2 separate regions of the Homo sapiens genome follow, and region 1 is linked to region 2. Evidence: promoter capture Hi-C in human tissues and cell types (Jung and others, 2019). All regions are on one chromosome and are shown on one strand. Each heading gives the region's core, a stretch centred on a gene start or on the middle of the fragment in contact. The rest is flanking DNA. Distances are from core to core; before and after follow the strand shown. Region 1 overlaps AMBRA1 (autophagy and beclin 1 regulator 1). Region 2 holds the start of MDK (midkine).

The links. Contacts are between HindIII fragments. The study calls those that stand out against the background at their distance.
Region 1: a contact is called between a fragment that was not itself captured here and the fragment with the promoter of MDK in region 2, in 2 of the 25 tissues and cell types used here (IMR-90 fibroblasts and lymphoblastoid cells).

The regions. Positions count from the first base shown.
Region 1 is chr11:46,463,279-46,470,017 of GRCh38, reverse strand. The region is part of intron 11 of AMBRA1 (autophagy and beclin 1 regulator 1); the gene reads left to right. Among named protein-coding and RNA genes, the nearest start is that of MIR3160-1, 15 kb to the right of the region's middle. The HindIII fragment of the contact is 5,711 bases long and covers 1,924-6,739 here.
Region 2 is chr11:46,379,468-46,386,245 of GRCh38, reverse strand. MDK (midkine) reads right to left here and starts at 4,577. Exons shown (of 5, transcript NM_002391.6): 1 at 4,488-4,577; 2 at 4,113-4,189; 3 at 3,785-3,952; 4 at 3,498-3,659; 5 at 2,445-2,777. The coding sequence starts at 4,188. The coding sequence ends at 2,752. DGKZ (diacylglycerol kinase zeta) reads right to left here. Exons shown (of 31, transcript NM_001199267.2): 30 at 6,678-6,777; 31 at 5,695-6,415. The coding sequence ends at 6,299. It overlaps CHRM4 (cholinergic receptor muscarinic 4), which reads left to right. Exons shown (of 2, transcript NM_000741.5): 2 at 1-2,457. The coding sequence ends at 1,128. RefSeq lists silencers at 3,593-3,887, 3,863-3,912, 4,333-4,442, 4,873-5,072, 5,503-5,712 and an enhancer at 5,212-5,846. The HindIII fragment of the contact is 7,629 bases long and covers 1-5,579 here.

The DNA.
Region 1 (6,739 bases), core at 3,530-6,029, 84 kb before region 2:
GTATGGATATTAGATTATTGTAAATTTTTAAAATGAAATAGGCTGGGCACAGTGGCTCATTCCTGTAATGCCAGCACTTGGGGAAGCCAAGTTAGGAGGATTGCCCGAGGCCAGGAGTTCGAGACCAGTCTGGGCAACATAGTGAGACCATATCTCTACCAAAAAAAAAAAAAAAAAAAGTTTAAGTTAGCTGGGCATGGTAGTTTGGGCCTGTAATCCTAGCTACTCAGAAGGTTGAGACAGGAGGATTGCTTGAGCCCAGGAGTTCGAGGCTGCAGTGAGCAATGATCGTACCACTGCACTCCACCCTGGGGCAACAGAGTGAGATCCTATCTCTAAAAAAAGAGAAAAAGAAAGAAATATATGTTGCTAAGTCTTATTCTTAGATTCATTTTACTCTGAAGATAACATATTTAAATTGTGCCTAGTTTATAGTATTTTCATTGTACATATTTTCATATAATGTACATATTTTCATACAGTTTTCATATATATTACACATATAATAGGTGTACATATTTTCTGTCTCCTTCAAGATTGTCAGTTCTCTCAAGTTAGGAACCATACCTTTTTTTCATAGTTGCTGTCCCCAATGTTTCTTTTACAGTCTGTTGTAATCTAAGGATTCTATTTCTTTTTTTTAACTCCTTACTATCATTCCCAAGGTACTCTGTTTCTAAAACATTCAGAGAAATAAAAAATTCTGTTATAAAAACAATGATTTCATTTTGGAGGAAGGGAAGATTAGGAGCTGGAGAGTTCAGCATAAAACACATTTTACCATATTCAATGAAAATACGTTAGATATAGATATAACTGTAAAGCCTAAACTAACTAAATCTAATATTTTATTACATCTTCTTTTTCTTTTTTTGAGGTGGAGTTTCCCTGTTGTCACGCAGGCTGGAGTTCAGTGGCGTGATTTCGGCTCACTGCAACCTCCGCCTCCCAGGTTCAAGTGATTCTCCTGCCTCAGCCTCTTGAGGAGCTGGGATTACAGGCATAGACCACCACACCCAGCTAATTTTGTATGTTTAGTAGAGACGGGGTTTTGCCATGTTGGTCAGGCTGGTCTCGAATTCCTGACTTCAGGTGATCCACCTGCCTTGGCCTCCTGAAGTGCTGGGATTACAGGCTTGAGCCACTGTGTCTGGCCTTCCTCCTTTTCTTTCTCTCTTTTTCTTTTTTCTTTTTTTTTTTTTTGAGACGGAGCCTCACTCTGTTGCCGCCCAGGCTGGAGTGCAGTGGTGTGATCTCGGCTCACTGCAAGCTCCGCCTCCCAGGTTCACGCCATTCTCCTGCCTCAGCCTCCTGAGTAACGGGGACTACAGGCGCCCGCCACCACACCCGGCTATTTTTTTTTTTGTATTTTTTTGTATTTTTAGTAGAGACGGGGTTTCACGGTGTTAGCTAGGATGGTCTCGATCTCCTGACCTTGTGATGCACCCACCTCAGCCTCCCAAAGTGCTGGGATTACAGGCGTGAGTCACTGCGCCTGGCCCTGGCCTTCCTTTTCTTTAAGAGTGATGCTTGTGCTACTAGGAGGCTGAGGTGGGAGGATTCCATAAGCCCAGGAGTTCAGAGTTACATTGAGCCAAGGGTAATGCTTGGGCCTCCTTCCTCTTCTTTTTTCTTTTTTTTCAAGAGATGAGGTCTCACTATATTGCCCAGGCTGTTCTCAAACTCCTGGACTCAAGCCATCCTCCTGCCTTGGCACCTCCTAAGGTGCTTGGGACTACCAGTGTGAGCCACCATGCTGCCCGCCACCCCTCCCCACTTTTTTTTGTATTAGTGATTGGTCCCACCACGCACTGCTTGCTGCATATTCTTTATCATCTATTGTTCTTATAATTCACAGAACCACTCAAAGAAGGCAGCTGTTGTTTGGCCATTTCTTCATTCAACAAATGTGTGAGGGTTTCCAATATACCTGTCACCATCCTATGCCCTGGAAGAATAGCAACCATGTTTTCCTAAGTAAACTGAAGATTCCAGGATCTCTTCTCACTATTCTAGCCCTGATTGAGGCCATTATGCTTTCGTAGCAGTTTCCTGCCTGGTTGTTCCCTGCTTATAATCTTCCCATGCCAGAAATACTTGCCAGTATGTGGCCCTAGACTTCTGGTAAACATGAAAGAATGAACATGTGTGTTTATCTCCACTCTCTCCCAGATCTCTTCTAAATTAACAGTAAAAGGGCCAGGTGCAGTGGCTCACACCTATAATCCCAGCACTTTGGGAGGATCACGTGAGGTCAGGAGTTTGAGACCAGCCTAGCTGACATGGTGAAATCCCATCTCTACTAAAACTACAAAAATTAGCCGGGTATGGTGGTGTGCTACTCGGGATGCTGAGGCAGGAGAATCGCTTGAACCCAGGAGGCAGAGGTTGCAGTGAGCTGAGATCGTGCCAGTGCACTCTAGCCTGGGCAACAGAGTGAGACTCCATCCCAAAAAAAAAAAAAAAAAGAGTAACATAGAGTAACAGTAAAGGAATTAGACAAAAGTATATATTCATTGTAAAAAGAGAATGGGAAAAAGCGAGTGATGATTAGTAAGTGATGACAAGAACATTTCTCTTCTAGAAGAAACAAAATTGCATGTGAAAGGAAATACGAATTTATTATACTATTCCTGTATTTGTGAATATTTATATAGTTATAATACTGTAAATAATTTACATTAACCCAAACATGGGATGTAACTATTTTGGAAGGATGGGGGAGAAAAGAAGGTAGGAACAAATCATCTCCCATCATAGGAAATCAGTAGATAATAGCGGAAATTGAAAAATCAGTTATAGGCCTAGTGCAGTGGCTCACACCTGTAATCCCAGTACTTTGGGAGGCTGAGGTGGGCAGATCCCTTGAGATCAGGAGTTTGAGACCAGCCTTGCCAACACGGTGAAACCCCTTCTCTACTAAAAATACAAAAATTAGCCAGGTGTGGTGGCGTGCACCTTAGTCCCAGCTATTCAGGAGGCTGAGACAGGAGAATCGCCTGGATCCGGGAGGTGAAGGTTTCAGTGAGCCAAGATCGTGCCACTGCACTCCAGCCTGGCAACAGAGCGAGACTCCATCTCAAAAAAAAAAAAAAGAAAAAAGAAAAGAAAAAAAGAAACATTAGTAATTTTAGAAATATGATGGTTAATTATCAGAAGAAAAAAAAGGTTTGAAAAGTGATTGCCTCTGGAGAACAGAAATCAAGGAGGGTGGGTCATGGGGCTGGAGGCTGCCATTTAACTTTATTAGCCTTGAATACTTTCTAACTTTAAAAATTATGGGTAGGTAGTACTTTGATAAAAATAAAAATTTGAAAGCTATCCACTGTGTAATTTACTTACTCAAAAATGTCAAAAGATTTCTCTTTCCTGCCACACAGATGACAAGTTCCTTATCTTTTTTCAACCTGATCTCTATTATTATTTATATAAGCCTTTGCTTCCCACTGAACTGGTATTAGCTCTTGACCCCTGAATCCACTTTGAGCAGTAACCTCTTTCTATCCTGAACCATTCTCCTTTCCACATGCTTCAAGCCCTAGTTCCTCTGTACTCTGTAAATTTCCTGCTCCTTCTCAGGTAGCCATTGGTGCCCAGTGGCCCCTTCCTAAATGGCTGTGGCTGTGGTTGGTCTCCTCGTTAGATACTCACATTGCCCTTTTTTTTTTTTTTAGACAGAGTCTTGCTCTGTTGCCCAGGCTAGAGTGCAGTGGCACGATCTCGGCTCACTGCAACCTCCGCCTCCTGGGTTCAAGTGATTCTCCTGCCTTAGCCTCCCAAGTAGCTGGGACTACAGGCGTGTGCCAGCACGCCTGGCCTCATTTATAATGCTTTTGATGGAAGTCCTATCTTCCCAACTGGATTGTAGGCTCCAAACAAGCAAGAAGTACATCTTACTACCATTTTATGTACATCTTCCACAGTGCTATTTGATAAATACCTGTTTAATATTCAGTTCTCACTCAGCCATCAAAAAGCTTTCTGTTTTGAGATCACTATTCTTTATTCTAGGCATGTCTCAAGACTCTGTACTTTAGTCTAGATCCCAAATCTGTGTATCTTTGTCAGCCTTAGTGAGGTTGAAGGCCAAGGCTTTATCTGTTTGCTGCTGATACTGTCGCTGGTTGGCACAGCATGCTAGTTGTTTTTTATAGAATATAGCATGGACAGTTGCACAATTTCTGTGAATGTTTAAGCAAGATTGTATGTATACATTTCAGAAGTTCTGTGTTACTTATGAGAAGTGCTAATTTATCATGAGCATCACTATTTTGGGGATGGATGAACCTTTTTCCTTTCTACCTCCTTACACTGATGATCCCTTACACTGCAAAGAGCCAGGAAAAACCAAAAGTAAATAAAGCCCTATGCAGTCTCCACTTTTTCTCTTTGCACTCTCTAACCACCTGGCTTTGCATGTTCCCTAGAGAGGCTTCCTCTGTGATATATCTTAGCCTGTTGAGCCCCAAAGTTACCTGAAATATTTAGGTCACTAGTTTTTAATCTTTAGAGAACAGTGAACTCTCTGAGAAAATATGGTAAAAACTTAGACCCTACACTAAGAAAAAAACACCTACACATAACTGTAGTAACGTGTGCCCAGGATTTTGTTTTTATTCCAATATGGTAAGGACAAAAGATGAAGAGATGATTGCCGTTGAAAGGATAGTTTGTTCCTTACAGTTCCCAAGAGATGAGCGTGTGCCATGCCACACAACACAAGGCCACATGGGGAAGTACCAGGGAGTCAGGAGGCAGAAGGAGGGCAGGGAGGAGCATGAGCCTTTATTGGGGTTTCTAGGGGAAGGGATGGGTGAGGCTAAGTAAGTTTAGGATTGGATCGGTTTGAATAATTTTGGCAGGGTCTGGGCTGTAGGTGTGGGCACTAGTTGTCCATACTTGGCCCTGGGGTGATTTAGGGCTGGGGAATATTGTCTTGGTGTTTATTTTTTTTTATTTTTTATTTTTATTTTTTGAGAGGGAATCTCACTGTGTCGCCAGGCTGGAGTGCGGTGGCGCGATCGCAGCTCACTGCAACCTCCACCTCCCGGTTCAAGTGATTCTCCTGCCTCAGACTCCTGAGTAGCTGGGATTACAGGCACCCACCACCATGCCTGGCTAATTTTTGTATTTTTAGTAGAGACGGGGTTTCACCCTGTTGGCCAGGATGGTCTCAAACTCTTGACCTCGTGATCCGACTGCCTTGGCCTCGCAAAGTGCTTGGATTACAGGTGTGAGCCACTGCGCCCGGCCTTGTCTCGGTGTTTAATAAAGGAGGTAGTTAGGGTATGGACTCTGGATTGGTTGGTTTGCATATCAAAGGCAAGTTGTTTGCAATCTCCAGGAAGTAACTAACCCTGGGAGGTACAGTTGCTTATCTGCAAAGCCCCTAAGATGTCAAAGCATCATAAAATATAGAAAATTAAAAATATTAATGTAATAACACACTCATGAACACATGCACAATTTTATTTGCTATTTCAGGGGTTTCTTGAACCACCTGAAGCCTATCTGTAGACCCAAGGTACAAAACCCAAATTGGGTCCTGGGAGCTCTGTGCCTTTGAATACAGTATTTGAGTTTAGTTTAGACCATCTCAGGAAGGTGCATAGTGAATTATTAAATCCAGGGAAATGCAGCAACTGCTCAACTTTTTTGGTAAAGCTTTTCTTTCTACTTTGTTTTGACTTTTATACTAGGAGCTTATTTGTGGGTATTTTGTGCCAAGAGGGATAAGCCTGCATTCTCTAATTGCTGCATCAAGTCTGCTCACAGGGCGTCCTGATGACATTTTAAATACATGGAAATTTTTGAATGCATGAAAACATCTAGTGCTGATTCTCTGGCACCTGCTCTTCTCTTCTTGGAGTTTATCCCATTGCCTAATTCTGTATATTGTTTCCAAACCTTTCATTAACCATTGTTGGAATTTTTGCTTTTTAACCTCAGCATCCCCACTTATCTTTTGAACAGAAACAAAAACTGTCTCTGACTACTAGGCATTTCCTAGAGTGAAAAGCTCCCTATCTCTCCTTTTCTGACTTTTCAGAGCATGAAATGGCTGTGCTAATCCTGTTGGCCCCAAGGCAAGAGCCTTGCAGAGGCTAACAAAGGAGAAGGCCTGCACCCACTTGGATCTTCCACAGGCCAGAGCAGGAATTTTTTTGTTACGTTTTACCAACTTGCAGAGGGAAGCCCGCCCACCCCGGCTTTGTTTTGGCTGCAGTTATATTTCCCCTGCATGAAACCATCAATTTCTTAGGGCCCCGAGTACTGTGCTATGTAGACTTCCAGAAGTTGGGTGCTTTCCTGGAGTTGCAGAAATCAGACAAAAGATTTTTAGGAATTTTGGAAGTGCCATTCTGACGATTGAGTGGGTATCTTCTCAAAGCCAAAGATACTTTGAGTCCTAGTTAACAAATTGAGTTGTAATTCTGTGCTTTTGTGCAAGGTACTCTTTAGTTAAGTGCAAGGATTCGGAGGTACTTAAGTCTCTCAGAGGGATTTAAGGTAGTCCCTACTCTTAAGGAGCTGACAGTCGAATAGTCCAAGTCAGATATATTCAAGTGGCCCTTTGTTTCTTTAATTAATATGGAGTTACTGCATACCTTCTACAGCAGAGCATCTATATATTTTATATAAAGATGAAGAAACTGTGTGTGTTCTTGCTATCAGAGGCACCTACTAATAATGTACTATGGGGATTCAGATTCAGGGAAAGTGTTGAGTGGGAATAGAA
Region 2 (6,778 bases), core at 3,328-5,827:
TGCGACCTGTGGCTGGCCCTGGACTACGTGGTGAGCAACGCCTCCGTCATGAACCTTCTCATCATCAGCTTTGACCGCTACTTCTGCGTCACCAAGCCTCTCACCTACCCTGCCCGGCGCACCACCAAGATGGCAGGCCTCATGATTGCTGCTGCCTGGGTACTGTCCTTCGTGCTCTGGGCGCCTGCCATCTTGTTCTGGCAGTTTGTGGTGGGTAAGCGGACGGTGCCCGACAACCAGTGCTTCATCCAGTTCCTGTCCAACCCAGCAGTGACCTTTGGCACAGCCATTGCTGCCTTCTACCTGCCTGTGGTCATCATGACGGTGCTGTACATCCACATCTCCCTGGCCAGTCGCAGCCGAGTCCACAAGCACCGGCCCGAGGGCCCGAAGGAGAAGAAAGCCAAGACGCTGGCCTTCCTCAAGAGCCCACTAATGAAGCAGAGCGTCAAGAAGCCCCCGCCCGGGGAGGCCGCCCGGGAGGAGCTGCGCAATGGCAAGCTGGAGGAGGCCCCCCCGCCAGCGCTGCCACCGCCACCGCGCCCCGTGGCTGATAAGGACACTTCCAATGAGTCCAGCTCAGGCAGTGCCACCCAGAACACCAAGGAACGCCCAGCCACAGAGCTGTCCACCACAGAGGCCACCACGCCCGCCATGCCCGCCCCTCCCCTGCAGCCGCGGGCCCTCAACCCAGCCTCCAGATGGTCCAAGATCCAGATTGTGACGAAGCAGACAGGCAATGAGTGTGTGACAGCCATTGAGATTGTGCCTGCCACGCCGGCTGGCATGCGCCCTGCGGCCAACGTGGCCCGCAAGTTCGCCAGCATCGCTCGCAACCAGGTGCGCAAGAAGCGGCAGATGGCGGCCCGGGAGCGCAAAGTGACACGAACGATCTTTGCCATTCTGCTAGCCTTCATCCTCACCTGGACGCCCTACAACGTCATGGTCCTGGTGAACACCTTCTGCCAGAGCTGCATCCCTGACACGGTGTGGTCCATTGGCTACTGGCTCTGCTACGTCAACAGCACCATCAACCCTGCCTGCTATGCTCTGTGCAACGCCACCTTTAAAAAGACCTTCCGGCACCTGCTGCTGTGCCAGTATCGGAACATCGGCACTGCCAGGTAGGCAGGCAGGAGTGCCCTAGGAGGTGCTGGTGTTGCGTGCGTGTGCTGGGGGGACCACACGGCTCACTTGCTGTGGGGAAGAGTTGCAGGCACCATTCTGCGTTCACGTTTGCTGAGGAGGAAGTTCAGAAGAGGCTCTGTGGCTGCATTCAGAGACCAGATCTCTGCTCAGGCTGAGGAGGCTCACCCCAGGGAGTGTCTGAACTGGGGCTGCCTGGCCCACCTCTGTGGCCCTGCTTCAGCGAGCTGCGGGGCACTGGCCTGGGTGGGCACCTGCCCCACTGTGACCAACCATCAGCAGTGCTGGAAGAATGGACATCTGGATGGGGGCCGAAGCCCAGGGCCCCCTCAGGAAGAACAAAGGGGCCAGTGCTTGGAAAAGGAGGCTTGGGAAGGGAGTAGAAGGGTGGGGTCCCCCATTCTGCTGTAATCGGTGCTTTCTGCCCCCTTGCACCCCGCATGTAGGCTCAGCCCCCTCTCCCCAAATCCCACTCCAGGGGCAGAAATCTCCTCTGGCTGCAGCTACTTAGCCAGGTTCTGGGTGGGTATGATGGAGGCCAGGTCCCCCCCGCCCCAGCAGCACTGCCCTTGTCACATTAAGATGGGGCAGCTGGGAGGTCAGAGGTTCTGTCTCAGGAACTGAGGTCTGGCCTTCTGCGATCCCAGGCTGAGCCGTGAGTGGTCCACGTATTCAGAAGACAGCCCCCTGCAGCCCCGGCCTTAGAAGGCTGTCCCAGGTCACACATCGAGTCAGGGTGAGGCTGTGGTGGATGGCATTCCCATCTGCCCTCTTCAAACCTCTCACCCCCTGGCTTCTGCAGGGTGGAGGCCTGGGTCACACAGGCAAGAGGAAAGGGGTCAACCTGGTGGCTCACTCGGGTTTCCATGACAGTGGGAAGGGGGGAGGTGGGCAGTGAGGTAGGCACGCAGCCCTCGCATCTGCTCTCCCCCATGGGTAGAACCTTCCTGATTGGCTGTGGGTTGTATCAAAAGACCTTTGACTGGGTGAGGCTGAGATGGGTGTGGTGGTTCCAGTGAGTCAGCCAGGTTCCCTTCCCCAGCCCTGGTCCCTGAGGGAGATGAGGACCGAAAGGCTTAGGTGACTTGATGGGGAGCACCCTTTCAGGGGCCCTGGAAGAAATGTTTGTAATTGTTCTGCTTTTTCCATGAGCTCTGGAGAGCACCCACCACCAAGCCCCCTGAAACCCACCAGTCCCTACAGCCTGGTCTTTCTCCCCACCTTCCCACTCCCAAACACATTTCCACAGCAAACTCCTTGGGAAGGGGCTTTTATATATTAAAAAAGAAGAGCTTTTATTGGGGGGAAAAAGTCAGTTTATTTGATGTGTTTCTTAGTAATGGAATTGTGGGGAAGAACAAAAGCGGGCTCTGGGACTCACATTGCTTTGGGGGAGGCTCAAGCTTCCCAGAATCCCTTGTCCCTCCCCACTTTGGGCACTTAGGGGTGGGGCTGGGGAGTGAGAGGGACAAGGCAGGGCATGATTGATTAAAGCTAACGAGCAGACAGAAGGCACTGGTGGGTCACATCTCGGGCCTGGGAGAGGGAGGGCGTGGGCCAGGCCCCATGTGACACCAGGGGCTCCTTGGCATCCAGGCTTGGCGTCTAGTCCTTTCCCTTCCCTTTCTTGGCTGTAAAACAAGAAAGAAATATTAATACCATATCAGCAGTTAGGCTGACCCATTGCAGACCGCCGGCTCCACAAACACCCGGGCATCAGGGAAGGAGAAGATTCTGCCCCCTAGTGGTTTCCAATCAGCTGACTCGGAAGCAGGGGATGGGGCAGCCATTGTGATGTGGACATGGGACATCCCCAGCTTCCTATTTCCACTTGGGATCAGAAAACCTTCAAGTTTCCAGTCCTAGTCCTGGTCACAGCAGCCCTGGGCATCCTCAGCCTCCTCACCTGAGAAGCGGGCAGATTCACCCCTGCCCTGCTGGCCTCGCTGGGCTGAGTCACGAGTGAGCTGAGAGGCCCAGGGTGGGCCTTGACCTCCTCCCAACACTAGAAAGGGCAGAGCTGACCAAATGCTGCCCGTGGCTGGAGAGCTGACAAAGGCAAGCCGTTCCAGGACACTCTCCCTGGGTCCTAAGCCAGATGCTCCAATGGAGTAGTTTGAGTTGGTCCCTATTTGGGCCAGGGAGGATTTATGTCCCCAGCATCACCTGCGGCCTCTCTTGTAGTGCCCATCTTCAGACTTTTCCAGGCAGGGAAGCCAAGTGAGGCGATGTCAGGAAGCCACTGGCCAGGACTCAAAACTTAAGGTTTAACTTGGAATTGTCCCCTCACAGGCGGGGGGGGGGGGGGGCAGCCCCCCGCGACAGCCCCACCCCCTTCTCCTTTCGCTGACCTTTGGCCTTTGCTTTGGTCTTGGGGGTGCAGGGCTTGGTGACGCGGATGGTCTCCTGGCACTGAGCATTGTAGCGCGCCTTCTTCAGGGTGCCTTGGCGGACTTTGGTGCCTGTGCCCCCATCACACGCACCCCAGTTCTCAAACTTGTACTTGCAGTCGGCTGGCGAGAGAGCGGCCCAGGTCAGCGCTGCGCGGCCCGCGGCCCCGCCCTCCGCCAAGGGTCCGCCCAGGCTTCGGCGAGGCTGTGCCCCCCGTCTCCTGCCCTCTGACTGCGCCCCGCCTCACCTCCAAACTCCTTCTTCCAGTTGCAGGGCACCCTGCACCGGATGCGCTGGGTCTGGGCCCCGCAGGTGCCCTCGCGGAAACCCACGCCGCAATCCTTGCTGCTGGGGGTGCAGGGCCCCCAGGCCCACTCAGCGCACTCGCTCCCCGGGCCGCCCTTCTTCACCTTATCTACAACGCGCGAGGAACAGAGTTCAGGACTGGGGCACGGGGAGACTCCCTCGGGAGCCGCCTTCCTGGGGTTCCAGGCTAGGAACCCAGGCGGCCCAGCCCAGAAGTGGAGGGGCCTCGCCTGCCCGTCCCCAGCCCTCCTTCGATCATCCCCCATCACCTTTCTTTTTGGCGACCGCGGAGGTGAGCGCCAGCAGGGCGAGGAGGGTGAGGAGGAGGAAGCCTCGGTGCTGCATCCTGAGGGGAGAGCCCGAGTCTGAATCCCTGGCCCGTCCCCTTCCCCACCGGGGGCCGCGTGCAGGGCCCTCCCACCTCCGCGTGCTCCACTTTCCAGGCCCCAAGTCGGGCTGCTAAGGTGGCGGCGGTGGGAAGACTTGGGGCGGCCCCTCGCCGCTAGCCCGGACGCACCGCTAAGAGGCGACTCCCCGGGGGACGCCTCGAGCCCAGGACGCAGCTCAGACCCCCACCCCCGCCTCCAGCCCCCAGCCCCTAGATCGGCCGCGGCCGGGCGGACCAGGGGCCGCCGCGCGCTCACTCGCTCGCTGCCCGCGCTGCTTCGCTCCCTCCCGCGCCGGGCCCGTCCCGCTCCGGCCGCCGCGGCCCCTTTTGTCTCCAGAACCGGTCTGAGCCGGTCACATGGGCCCCCGCCCCCTCTCCCCACCCCCCCAGGGAAGGACCCGCCCCGCCCCCTCCCCTCAAACCCGCACCGCCCCCGACCCCGGCGTCCCCGCCCCCGCTCCAGCCCGCGCCCCCCGCGCTTCTACTCCGGCGTCCGTGTTCCCGGCCCCGCGTCCTCGCGTCTCCCCGCCGGTGCCCTCTGCGCTGCGACGGCGGCCTCTCCCGGCCCCATCTTCCGAGCGGTGGTCTCCCGACCCCGGGCCCCGTCCCGCCCGCGCACACCGGCCCCCGGCCCACTCCCTGCGCCGCCGCCCGCTGCCCCCATCCCAGGTCGTCCCCTGCCGTACGCCAAGGCCCGGGCCGTTCTCAGGCCTCAGCTTCTCTTGCCTGCCGCGGAGCCCCGGCGCCTGTATAACCCGCGGGACCCGCTCCCCTCCACGGCCGGCTCAGCCCTGGCGCCCTGCTGGCTGCTGGGGAGGGGGCGCGGCCCACCTGGGGCGGTTTCCGCGGGTGGGCAGGGAAGCGCTCTGCTGTGCTGGGGGGAGTCTGGGACCCGGTCGCCCAGAGAAAGCCACGGGTGCGGTCGCCCAGTGCCTTTCCGGGAGCACAGGCTTGAGGGACTGCGAGTGGGGGTCCTGGGGGAGGAGCCCGCAGGCCTGGATTTGGTGAAACTTGGCGCTGACAGGAGCCGTCTGAGAAGTTCCAGATCCAGCCACATCGGCAGCTGCAAGTGCCCACCCCCTCTAACCCTGGGCCTGTGGCATTGCCTCGCCCGGTTCCCCCAAACCGGGAGAGCCCCCGAGGCCTGGGGGAGGGGCTTGCTCAAGGCCACAGGGCAAATGGGCCACAGAACCCGGGCTCGCCCCCGCCCCACCCCTCTTTCACTTTCATTGTTGTTCTCCGCGGGAAGCGGGAAGCCGGAGGGATCGGCCCCGCCCCCGGCCCCGACGAGCGCGGCCGCCGGGCAGAGGTCAGGAACCGGGCAGGCCCTGGGACCAACCACCAAACGGGAGCCGGGGCCCCAGGAAGGTGCTGTCGACAGCGTCCAGTCCCCCACCCCGAGGACAACCCCGCAGCCCCCGCTGCTTGTTAGACCTCCCCCGCAAAAGAAGAAAAGCAGAAAAGAAAAAAAAATCCACTTTACTGAGTCACACCCAGCTGTAAACATGTCACCGTGAGAGTCCCGCCCCCCACCCCCAGGCCGCACAGTCCGCGATGAAATGACAGGGGAGCGGGGAGGGTCGCCGGAGCGGGTGCCAAGCAAGGCAGGGCAGGCAAGTGCAGCAGGCGCTGAGTTTCCGGGAGGAAGCCCGGAGGAGGTGGGGTGGGGCAGGAGCGGGGGCTGGGGACCCGGCCGAAGACCAGGGGGCCCAGGAAGCCTCTTCCCGAAGGCCTCCCCCTCTCCAGCCCCTCCACTCCTGGGAGGGCATCTGCTGCGGCCAGGGAGCGCCCTGCCCCAGAACCCCGGCAAAGGCATATCCAACCCAGCCGTGTCTTGTTCCCTGTGAGCCTCCGGGTCCGGCGGGGTCCTCAGGGGAACAGGTGAGGCCCCCCCAGCTCCTGAGTCCAGCCCTAGGTCTGGGCGGCTCCTTAGGGGGCGGCATGGGGCTCTTTCCCTGGGGCCTAGGTCCCCCCGTGGCCGTCCCACTGGAATGTGGCAGTGAGGTGGGCAAGGAAGGCGCTCGTCCCCTGGCCGCATTGTCCCTCCTGCTGCCCGTGGGCGGCCCGCTACACAGCCGTCTCCTGGTCCTCCCGCTGGATCATCTGGTAGTGCTGCCGGTTCTCCAGGTAGGCGGCCAGCTCGGTGTCCTGAGCCTTCTCAGCCCGCTGCCGGGGAGTGTCGCCCTGGAGGAGGGCGGAGCTGCGATCAGCAGGGGCCAGAGGCAGGCCTAACCCCTAGCAGGCTGAGAGGCAGGGGCTCTACCTCCCTGTGGCCTGGTCAGGGAGGGAGGCCTCTCTGCCCACCAGCTCCTCCCCTGCTGGCTCAGGTTTCCCAGGGTCTGGACTGTGTCTTCCCAGGGACAGCCCCCAGCCCCAGCTCCCGCCTAGGACCTTGGGAAAGGTTTGGTTGGTGCCCTCGTGGGCTCCCTGCCTGCCGTCTGCTCACCTGCTGGTCTGTCTTCATGAGCGAGGCCCCGGCCTCCACGATGTAGTGGCAGATGGTGCGCTGGCCCAGGGCCGCTGCTTGGTGCAAACAGGTCTCCCCGC